2 separate regions of the Homo sapiens genome follow, and region 2 is linked to region 1. The links are contacts of gene promoters, found by promoter capture Hi-C in blood cells and fetal thymus (Javierre and others, 2016). All regions are on one chromosome and are shown on one strand. Each heading gives the region's core, a stretch centred on a gene start or on the middle of the fragment in contact. The rest is flanking DNA. Distances are from core to core; before and after follow the strand shown.

The links. Contacts are between HindIII fragments. The CHiCAGO score rates a contact against its expected background, and 5 or more counts as called.
Region 2: a fragment that was not itself captured here is called in contact with the fragment with the promoter of RAB5A in region 1 in 1 of 17 cell types (non-activated CD4 T cells); the score reaches 5.1 in non-activated CD4 T cells.

The regions. Positions count from the first base shown.
Region 1 is chr3:19,945,779-19,951,625 of GRCh38, reverse strand. It overlaps RAB5A (RAB5A, member RAS oncogene family), which reads right to left and starts at 4,529. Exons shown (of 6, transcript NM_004162.5): 1 at 4,105-4,529; 2 at 565-820. The coding sequence starts at 727. It also overlaps a transcript of EFHB not described here. RefSeq lists enhancers at 3,245-3,844, 3,891-3,940, 4,461-4,510, 4,372-4,541, 4,467-4,636 and 1 more. The HindIII fragment of the contact is 3,439 bases long and covers 4,142-5,847 here.
Region 2 is chr3:17,737,445-17,743,240 of GRCh38, reverse strand. It overlaps TBC1D5 (TBC1 domain family member 5), which reads left to right and starts at 610. Exons shown (of 23, transcript NM_001349074.2): 1 at 610-760. It overlaps LOC105376975 (a long non-coding RNA gene), which reads right to left and starts at 297. Exons shown (of 2, transcript NR_135536.1): 1 at 123-297. RefSeq lists enhancers at 194-263, 221-924 and silencers at 384-693, 924-1,123. The HindIII fragment of the contact is 1,611 bases long and covers 2,374-3,984 here.

The DNA of each region.
Region 1 (5,847 bases), core at 3,280-5,779:
TAGAGTTTCAGGCTGCAGTCTGCAGTGAGCTATGATCCGGACACTGCACTCCAGCCTAGGCGACAGCAAGATCCCATCTCTTAAATACCAAAAAAAAGTACATCTAGCAGTATTTAATTACATTTAATTTTACAAGTAAGTATAATTATTTGCAAATACTTCAGTTATATAGATCAGAATTTAAGGTTACCTTTTTTACTATTCATTTTAAACCAATATAATTGAGCACAAACATGTACTGTATTAATTTGAAGAAGCTTCTAGTTGTTAGCTAGAAATAGGTATCAGGTCAAATGTTATTACTTGAGACACTGATTCTACTCATGTTTTTTATCTGTATTTTAGCTACAATATAACCACAAGGGATTAACCAAACAATCAAATATAAAAACACATCATTTTAACAAAGATAAAGGCAAGTTTTAAAGCTAAGGTAAGCTGAACAGCTCTTTTCTTCACTCTATGACTTATTTAGCTATTCATAATCACACAATTGGAACATCAAAATATTTTCTGTCAATGTATGATTCGATTAAATGAAGCAGGGAAAAAAGAAAATCTCACCCCCAATGGTACTCTCTTGAAATTCATGAAATTGGCCTTTCACAAAACGAAGCACTAGGCTTGATTTGCCAACAGCGGACTCTCCCAGAAGTACTAGTTTGAACTGGCATATTTTATTTCCCGTATTTGGCCCGTTGGGTCTTGTTGCGCCTCGACTAGCCATGTCCAAATTTGAAATAAGTCCCTAATTTCAGACTCTTCAATGAACTTCCAGAATTCAAGGGGCCAATATTCTTCTTTCTGGAGGTAAAGAAACCTGTAAAGAAACAATTATGAATTAAATATACAAATCAGTAAAGCAAATTTACTATTAATCACTTTAAATATTGCCTATAGCATGATTATCTTAAACTCTACTAGACCTTCAATGCCCTTTAGATTATGTCACTATCTTTTAAAGGAAATTCAAAGGTATAGGATGTGAGTCCAAAATTACTTTTTTTTTTAAAGGCTAACCTCAAAGCTTCAAGTTTGTGCCAGGCAGTGCTTTAAGTACTTAACTTCTCAACAATCCTATAAAATGAGATATTATTACAATCCTTATAAATGAGGAAACAAGCACAGAGATGTTAAGAAGCTTAATTGAGGTCACACAGTTATTGTCACAGAAGTGACAGAGCCGAGTTTCAAACCCAGGCAACCTGAGAGATGACTCGAGTTCAAGTTCTGTAGCCAGGCTACTTGGATTAACATTGTTTTGAGAAAAATTATGTTATTAATAAATGGGAAACTTTTAGAACAGATCCTAAAATTTAGTATTATTTGAAGTTTTCTGTTAAACGATGCATTTTTCATTTAATTAATGGTAATTTTGGACAACAAATATTTTCAGTCTCCCAGGTTTGTGTGCCTAACGGCAGACTTAAAACTGTTTCCTCATCTGCTCAAGCACACCATACACAGAAATGCTAACAGTTGTTCTCCATGTGGTGATTATTACTGACTTATTTACTTACAATAATTGTAACTTTTTTGTAGTCTTTAGACGAACAATATACATGCCATTTTTAAAAAAATTTTTTTGGAGAAAGGGTTTTGCTCTCTCACCCAGGCTGGAGTGCAGTGGCGTGGTCACAGCTCACTGCAACCTAGACCTCCTGGGCTCAAGCAATCCTCCTGCCTCAACCTCCTGAGTAGCTGAGACTACAGGCGCTCAGAACCATGCCAGGCTAATTTTTTGGTAGAGACACTTAACTGCTATGTTGCCCAGGATGATCCTGAACTCTCGGGCTCAAGCAATCCTCCTGCCTCAGCCTCGCAAAGTGCTGGGATTACAGGTGTGAGCCACCACGCCCAGCCTGCAGGCCATTATTTTTTATTTAAACAACACATTAAAGAAATCTAGCCTGAATGGCGACTTCTATGCTAATTTTTAATCTCTAAGGAATTAGTGAATATTTGAAGAACCTTTTTCAATCCACTCACAAACCAATCTTAACAGTTTCCTTCTATCTTTAATCAAAATCCGAATACATGCTAATATATTAAACCTGATGATTCCCTCTCTAAAAACCCTGCTATATTTCATTTAGCTACCTCATATAAGAAATACGTCTTTCACACTGGACAGAGTGGCTTATACCGGTAAATCCCAACACTTTGGGGGTGAGGCAGGAGGACTCTGAGACCAGCCTGGGCAACACAGTGAGACCCTGTCTCTATATTAAAAACAAAAGAAAGAAATATGCCTTTCCCATAAAATGAGCTTATAATACGCTCTTCATAATGAATTCCCTAACATGTCCACGAGATCTTAGTTCTTAAGGCAATGAAACTACCTCCTTGCCTTAACTAAACACCAGCTTTTTAGAGTCCTTATCTTTTACCATTACATACTGAAATATTTACAGATTTATTGACGTAATATCTGAGTTGCTTCCAAATAACAAGGTATAAATAAAAATGCCCCCTCCTCCACAAACATACCAGATTTAGGGGTGTAATCCTGGCTATACCAATTTCCGTCTGGGCAAACTCTTTAATTTCCAAGTTTCTATTCCCATAATATCTAACTTGCATAGCTGATGTGACAATTAAATAAAACAATACATGTAAACAATCTCTAATATACATAGTAGGGATTGAAATTGCCAATAATGTGCTCCTTTGATAAGAAAATGATAAAATATCAATAGAACATCATATATACTGAAAATGCACCAATACATCTTCAGATATTACACACAATCAAAACATTTTCCATTTGTCTTTTTATTTAAGAAAACAAGAAATTACTTATCAAGGACAATATGCTCCAAATTTCTACGGCACTTCCAAAATTTTAGGGAAAATATCAGACTCCCATTAAAAAAAAAAATCAAACAAGATTCTGATTTCACTTTGACTTTTAAGGTTTAAAGCTACTTAATTGTGGCTACTCCCCCTAAGGATCTCAAACAGGAAATAACTAAAGTTAATGGTAAATATACACTTAGCATAACACTAAGGTTAAAAATTACGTGCATTCATTTGTATTCACTGCTTACTGAAACTTCTGTTTTGCAAAACAAGAATTTTGCATAATATACATTTGTAATCTTTTGAAAATAACTGTTATTCATTCTATAGTTAAAATCCTTCTAAGGGTTCTTTGATCAAAAAATTGACTGGGCACTTATTTTGTGCCAGGCACTGTTCCATTTACTTTGTTTATACAAATGCTGAGTTATCACTTCCATTTTACTTTAGGAATAAAGTTTATGAGCAGTCTTGAGTATTCCCAGAGGTGTACAAGTGTTTTTTTCTTATTATGTGAAAGGCAACTGATTGAACGCTTTGATTCCATTTAAGCAAGACAAAAACCAAGTATGTGAACTATGACGTTCAGAACTTAACAAGTTTGAAAGTCTCAGAGGTAAGCAGCTTCCAGGGAAGATAACGCCAGAGCAAGTTCCATGGTCTCTACCCAGTGAAGGAGTTCAGCGGTCCTGTTATCTTGAATTTATTTAACGCTGTAGTTCACTACCTTCCAAACAGAAAACAAGTCTCTAGACAGCCTATTTTGACGAGCCTCCCACCCACCGACACTACTCATCTTTGGAAGTTGAAGATAGGCGGAGCTCCCCACATTGACACCTGCAGTAGGCCCAGGTTCCTGCTTGGAGAGCACCTGAGTAGCTAATAGCCAACTACAGATCGCCTGGATAAGCAGCACTCGCCAGGTCCCTTGGCCTTTCCAACCTCCTCCCCCGAACCTGCCTTGCTTTGACCGAGACCCCCAGGACTGCCAGGACGGAGACCAGGCGGAACCGCGGCCTCCAGTACACTTTCCACGGCGCCATCTTGAGAAGGGAAAGGGTGACACCCGTCGCTCCCTCAGTCAGTCCCCAAATCCCGGTCTCCAGAGCCCCTGGAGGATGAGTCACCAGGGCTGGCAGAACAAGACGCCGGGTTCGATAGTTCTCTGGTCCAGGGCACTGCTGCGCGTGAGGGAGAAGGGGTGGGGGGTCTCAGTACCGGCAGGGCCGCGGACAGGCTGGGGACCGCGGATAACCTGGGGTCCAGGCCCCCGCTGCGCAGGAGGAGGGGCGGTTCGGTTACCTGAGACCGCAGCAAGCCGAGCTGCGGGGCCGAAGCTTCCTGGCAGCAAGGCCCAGGCGTGGCCCGTAGGATGAGAGTGTATCTATGGCGGTGGTGGTGGCGGCGGCGGCGTCGCCTGCTCTTAGCGCCGCTCCCCTCACACTGGACTGTGCGGGGCTCGTGCCGTGGTGCCGCCCCTGTCGGGCTCCGTCTCCGCCTCTCGCCGCTCCCCCTTCCTCTTTCCTTTCTCCTCCTCCGCCGCCGCCGCCGCCGCCGGCGCTGGAGTTCCGACTAATTCTTCCTCCTCCTCCTCCCTCTGCCTCCTCCCCTAAGGCCAGCCGCCGGCTCCTTCACGAACCAAAACACAAACACTCAAGTCCCACCGCCGGAGCCACTTCCGCTGCCCGGTGCCGGCCCCGCCGCCACGTCGCTGCACGCAGCGAACTGCGCCACTTCGTCACTTCCCATCATCGCCAGTCCGCCTGCTCCTTCCGCTTCCTCGCCCCTTCCCGAATCCCTCCCCGCCTAGGTTTGTTCGCGGGGCGGGGCGAGGCAGGATGTCACGTGACCCTGCGAGTGGCTCAGATCCGAACTGGCCGCCTTTCTCCCCTTCCCCCACCCCAGGTACGCGCGGCCACGCCCTCTCCAGCGCCATTGTTATTTAGGCTGGGGGGTCTCTGGGCTCCTGGCGGCCGGGGTCGGGGGAAATTCCTTTACTATTCTTTGGGGGAAGATCAAAATAACTTGTGTTTTTTTGTTTGTTTTTTGTGCCCAGCCCTTGTGGGAGCGGCGAGGTTCCCTAACCCCAATCCTGGCATCTCGGCTAAGGGGCTTTATTAGAGGGAACTTGTCTAGCACGAGAGAACCTCCTCCCACAAAATGGCCCTGGGGTTGGGTAGGTCGGTAAAGGCTGCTAAATCGCATTTACCCCAAGGAGGAAGAAAGGACCCTCCCTATCCCAAAAGCCGCCTTTAGGCGCCTGACAATAAGAAGTCGCTTCTGTTAAGAGTTTACGTGGTTTTGGTAGGGGGCGGGGAAGGCCAAATCCTAAAATAGTGTCTGCCTTTTATTCAGAATTTCCCTTCGCTCTTTACTGTACTAAACGCTTTACAGGAATTATCCCATTGAATTCTTACACTCGAGTCTTTCATTCTGAAACTAACTTGTTAATCGTCTGTTCCCTACATTCGAATTTTAGCTCCCCTTGGTGGTCCTCACCGCTGTAAATCTATGTCTAGCCCAGTGCCTGGCAGCCAAGTCTTCAGTTCTAGTTGTAGATGTTTTATAGGTAAAGAATTTGAGACACAAGAGATTGAGTAACTTGTCCGAGATCACGGCTGTGTGGTGCAGAAGCTGGATTCTGATCTGCGGCGGGTTGGCTCCAGAACGTGAGTTGTTGAACACAATTCTGGTGAAAGACAACCCAAGATGTTCGTTACCCTCCACGGGGGACCTACTGAAGATGTGCTGCTTTAGTTGAATCCCACACCACATTCAGTCTCTGGCGAGGCTTCAGCCACCACCCCCTCCCCAGCCTCCGCCAAAAAAATTGTTTTGATAATTTAGTGGAAGAATATTAAATTGATTTTCCTTCAGAATAAAGGCTACTTTTCAGTTTGCAGTTTACAATGTATAGCTCTGTTGTAAGGGCGAGAATATTGTCTTTGAAGTGTACCGGGTTAAGGTATCTTATGGGCGTACAGTCGGCGGCATTGTGCAATTAAGATGATTTGAACTTTGAACAGCCCGTCTTTCAGATCAACT
Region 2 (5,796 bases), core at 1,930-4,429, 2.2 Mb after region 1:
TGCACAAAGTGCTAGTGACTCCTCTAAAGTAGGCAGGGGTAAGTTTCACGGAGAAAGTGACAGATGAGCTGAGTTAGAAGCCTACTCAGCCACAGAAAAATGTGGCATGGAAGGCCATTTACCTGTGACAAGGAAATGTAAATTCCTTGGCAGGAGAGCCAGGATCTCAGGAGAGTCCCTGGGACCCTCTGCTCCCCTTCTCAGTCCAACCCTGGGAAGATAGTTGGTGGATGTGAACCTCTGACTAAGACCCAGGAGCTGGTTCCCAGCCTCCAGCCGCGCGCCGGTTGGAAGCAGGGAGAGAAGGGAGGGGTAAAAGCCCTCAGGCGCATGCGCTCAGCAGCCTGCCGGCTCAGCCAAGGAGAGCTCTGCCCGCGGCTCACTCCCCACCTACTCGCTTCTCGCGCCTCGCGGGCCCCAGAAACCCGGACCCGAGAGCGAGCGCGTTGCGCTCGCGCGCAGACTTCAGGTCCCGTGCGGGCGCCTGCGCACGAGCTTCCCAGGCGCGCGGGCCGCGAGGTTATTAGAGGTGGAGCGCGGGGAGGGCGCGCGGCGGGAGGCGGCCGCCGTTACGGCGCGAGCGTGGTCACGTGGCCGCTGGTCACCGCCGCCACCCCCTCCCGCCCTGTTCTCTTTCAGGTCGGGCCGGGCCCGGCCGCTTCCGCGAGCGCCCTGCAGACTGAGGGAGAGAGAGAGAAAGAGGAGGGGAGGAGGAGGAGGATTCAGGGAATAGGAGCTGGGGAGCCCTTCTGCGCCACAGGTAAAATAAAATAATGATGATGATCGTAAAAAAGCCCAAGCCCTCTGAACGCCTCCGCCTTCCTCCAGTGCAGCCCCACATGCAGTCGTTCCCGCCCCGGCCTCCCACTCAGCCTCAGGACAGGTTTCGCCCCCCTTCGCGCCGCTGCTGCAGCCGCAGCCGCCGCCGCCTTCTCACGGGAGGGCCTGAGGGTGCCGCCGCCACGGCGGACGGGTTGCCGCACCGCCCCCCGTTTGTGCGCCTCGGAGTCGGCGTCGGGGGTGGATGGCGGGAGGGGTGGACCCTTCAGCTCCCTGGCGGGCAGGGCGGGCAGGGCGAGCTGGGCGGGGTGGCTGCTTGCAGTCTGCCTGCTTTCCCTGCCCCAGGAGGTCGGGGTCTAGACTGGAAGGCCAACTGCAGTAAAGGCAGGGCCTGGCGGCTGGACTAGTGCTCAACTTCCTACTTAGTAAATTTCCATGTTCATTTGGGCCCCGGGAAGCACGCTTCCTTCCCTAGCCGGAAGCGAAACGGGCCCTGAATCCTCAAACCTTAATAGTCTTTAGAAGAGAGAAGCCTTGACTTCACTTTTGAGGAAGGGAACCGTGACCTGGATTTAGTACGACTTAAGTTTATTCACACGTAAGAAACGGAGGTCTTTCAGGATAAGAGCAAAAAAAAAAAAAAAAAAAAAAAAAAAAAAATTCGCAGGGAGGGCAAATCCCGCTCCCCACCCCGACTTTTCCTGGAAAAACACACAGACCTTCACTACAAGATTCGATTCTACAAGTGACCTAGAATTTGTTCGATACCAGTTACTCGTTTTAGTTACAGGAATTATAATCTGTGTTTAAAGTTAACATCCTGTAGGTTTTTTTCGAATAATAACTTTCTGGAAAGAGTTCATTTGTCAACTCTGAATTGGACAAAATCCTAAGATTTTAACATGCAGGTTTCACACGTTTGGACCAGGTTGCCTGGAATTTCTAGACCCGGTAATTCTTTTGTAAACCTTTATAAGTGTTGTGCTCTTGCACAAAATACTTAAAGCAGGAAGCAATAAATAGGTATTGTTGAAAAATGAGCCTTTGCTATCGGTGGCAAAGAAATTCATTTATATATTGGTTTTTCTCTTTGGGCTTTTCTGATTCCGTGTCTTGGTACTTTTCATACCATATCTCTGAATTCATTTGTAAACTTGAGCATTTTTAATTTTTACAGCTATCTGCAGTATCACAGAACACTCAAACCTTAATGTGGGTGGGAATCACTTGGGGCTCTTATTAAAAATGCATTTTCTGGTTCAGTAGGCCTATGGTGCATTTTGATATTGTACATTTCTGATAACATGTGCAGCTGGACAAGGGACTATCTTTGAGTAGCAAGGAAGTGGATAACTTGTGTGCAAATAAATAAAGTGTTGTATTTATCAATAAACATGTTCTTTTTAATAACTCACCCCCGGGTGTAGAGGTGGCTTGGGAGAAGGGGCAAATGGCAGGATGAACTGAGAAAGCTTTCAGAGTGAGCAGGCTGAGTCTGGATTCCAGGGGAGGGGATAGGAAGAGTGCAAATATTGTGTCTGTATGCTGTATGGTGACTGCATCACCTGGTCTGTGAATTTTCCATTAGAAGCTTGGTGTGCTGTTAGGTGAAAGACTTGCTCAGCTATGCGTCATTGGGTTTTATCAACATATAGGCGAAAAAAATCCTGGTCTCTGAGTGTACAGCTGAGATGAAAATTTCTTTTATTGGAGGAAGTATTGAGTGTGTGCTCTCAAATGCGGCCTCAGTTGAGTAGTGCATTCCTGAGTTTTGGAAGCAAATTTGCAAACAATTGAGAGTCGTACAGTGGGTGTTCTAACTGGATTCAGGTTTTTTCTAATGTAATTTTTTCACACGTAAATTAAAAAGTTTAGAAATGTCACACATAACTTCATAACACTTTATGGAGAAATGGTTGTACTTTTAATTTTTTTCTTTTTATTTATACTCCAACTGACTGAGCAGAGGTTGTACTTCTAAATAACTTTGTGGAAGTTTTTAGTACCATAATTTTTATAATTTTCATTCCAGTCCTTTGATATTTATGACAGTACTTCTGAAGCGCTTACTGAGTGCCGGACACTGTTGTAAGTGCTTTACGGAACTTGACTTTTTTTTTTTTTTGAGACGGACTCTCGCTCTGTCGCCCAGGCTGGAGTGCAGTGGTGCAGTGGCTCGATCTCGGCTCACTGCCACCTCTCCCTCATGGTTTCAAACACTTCTCCTGCCTCAGCCTCCCAGGTAGCCAGGATTATAGCCGCCCGCCACCACTCCCGACTAATTTTATTTTGTATGTTCTTTTTTAGTAGAGACGGAGGAGTTTCACCATGTTGGCCAGGCTGGTATCGACCTCCTGACCTCAAGTGATGTGTCCATCTCGGCCTCCCAAGGTGCTGGAATTACAGGTGTGAGCCACTGTGCTCGGCCTACCTTTTTTTTTTTGTTTTTTGTTTTTTTGAAAAGGAGTTTCGCTCTTGTCCAGGCTGGAGTATAATGGTGCGATCTCAGCTCACCGCAATCTCCGCCTCCCAGATTCAAGCGATTCTCCTGCCTCAGCCTCCTCAGGAGCTGGGATTACAGGCGCCCACCGCCATGCCCGGCTAATTTTTGTATTTTTAGTAGAGACGGGGTTTCACTATATTGGCCAGGCTGGTCTCGAACTGCTGACCTCAAGTAATCCGCCTGCCTCAGCCTCCCAAAGTGCTGGGATTACAGACGTGATCCACCAGGATCACACCAGGCCGCGCCTGGCCTGCTTTCATTTTAAAAGTCAAATTTGTCATCCGCCTCAGTGCTTGTAATCTTTTCTGAGTGAGATACTGAAATTTGCAGTTTCGTTTTGCTTGCACTTGTTCACTGGACCAGTAGTCACTGTTAAATGTAAAAGTATCTACTTCCTCTGAAAGTTTTTTATTCCTTTATTTCCTGCCTGGGCTTGTCCTCCACCCTACATGTATGCGTAGTAGATTTAGTGTTTGTTATCCTAACCTTTAGGTTTAGGGATTGACTGGGTTTCTGACTTTTTATTTGGCCAATGAGGACGATACAGAAAATGAAGCATTGGTCATTATCACATTTTAACGCTGAAAAAGTAAGAAGGACAACCCCGGAATAAAAGTAAGTTGAATAATTTATGTTTCATTTAAAAATGAATATATAATCCCTTCTCTTAACCCCCTTTTTGTCTCAGACCACTGAAAGCTTTGTCCTGTTAGCAGCAGCAGTCTGAGAAGTGGTGCTAGTCCACCTGATCCTGAGACATTTCTCTCAACATGGGTAGATCATTGGAATGGCAGTGTGTACAGTGTGTGTACCAGAACTTGAGAAATGTGAGGTCGGGGTGGTGGGATGGTCAGCAGTGGAAGAGCTGGGAGAGGGGAGGGAGATCATTTGACGGAGAGGGCCTGTGGGCTGCTTCTAGTAGCATCAATTATTACTAGAATAATGGTGAATTTGGGAAGGATGTCAGTGTAACAACAAATCTCAGTGTAAATGCTTTCTCAAAAACCTGTGAAGTGTTTAGGAAAATGTTTATCATTCTACAAATGTTAGGTAAACATTTAAAAATAATTCCTGTGCAATGATTTAGTAACATTAAACATTATATAAATTGAGGGATAAAAAGAGGCTCAGAGATTATCATCAGAGGTTAAGATTGTCCCAAATTCTCTCTTGTTCTTTTGGAATATTAGGATAGAGTTGAAACCCTTGCTGCATGCCCACTTGTTGGCTTTTTTATTTCTTACCCTGATGCTGTGTTGTGGGCTGCATGGACATACCAGCTCTGCCATGCTTTCTGGGCCTCACAGCTGAATGGCCAAGTCATTACTTACGGTTATCCCAGGGAAGCATTTGTTGCACATCCGAATGATGGAAGCCTTCTAATTGGTATTTTCAGCTATTAATAATAATTTTAATATTTTTACAAATTCTGTATGATTATGATATGTGTTATAATGCCATGCTGGTCAGCTACTTAGTCTCACAGTGCCTCACTTTTCTCATCTTTAAAATGGGGAAAATAATAGTAACTTTGAGAATTAGAGAGAGAGAGAGAGTGTGTGTGTGTGTGTGTGTATGTGTGAGTGTGTGTTTAAAGCCCTTAATGCTATCACGTAAGTGATAGATATTCTGTGGATAATCTACAGTGTGGTAGATCATATCTATATAATCAAGACTGACTATATTTTTGGAGATTGTACAGTTTATTTGGGATAAGGCTCTATGGGCCAAGAAAGCAGAGTTTGTACTTTTTGGATGAAAATACAAAATTGGTATAGTAATGCTCTTATCCCTTTGGAGAATTAAATGCAAATAAATATAGTTTGACAGCTCAGATCTTTCAAAACAAGAAAGTAGGGCTGTAGAAAAAAACATGTCTTTGGTGATGGTGTGAAAGGATTGGTTAAAATCTTTCAAGGGTAGTGTTGCGAAGCCTAGTACAGGATCACCTTTTTTTCTGAATGTCCATTAGTTTGGATGAAAAACATCTAAAGATAATGTCATTCAGTCATTGTCCAGTGTTGCATGTGGTTTCTGTGGCTAACTCCAGGAAAATATTCAGTAATTGCAGATTTACTCTTTTTCTTAATTCAGTTGCCTAGAAAAGATGTTAACTGGGTTTTTTTTTTTTTGAAACAAAATAGTCTTAAAAGTTTTGAAATAGGCATTACAGATGATTACATGTTATCATAGTTTTTTTGTTAAGACAAGAGTGTTTACCTTTACTTTTTTGCTAGTGATGAAGGCTACATGAAGAAGAGTGATTGACTTTTTAAAATGGAATGATGTAATTTTATGATACTTTATGGAAGAGTAGTGTGTATGTATGTCTAAAGAAAATTCTGCTATGAGTGCATGTATTAGATCCAGTAATCACAGTATGTTAGGTTAGCCTGCCATTAGAAAAAAGAGCCACCTCCCCCCATTATAGAAAGTAATGCCTATTGTTGAAATTTTATAAAAACAAATGATGAAAAATAATTATCTGCACTGTTGAGAATTTCTTAAGGTTC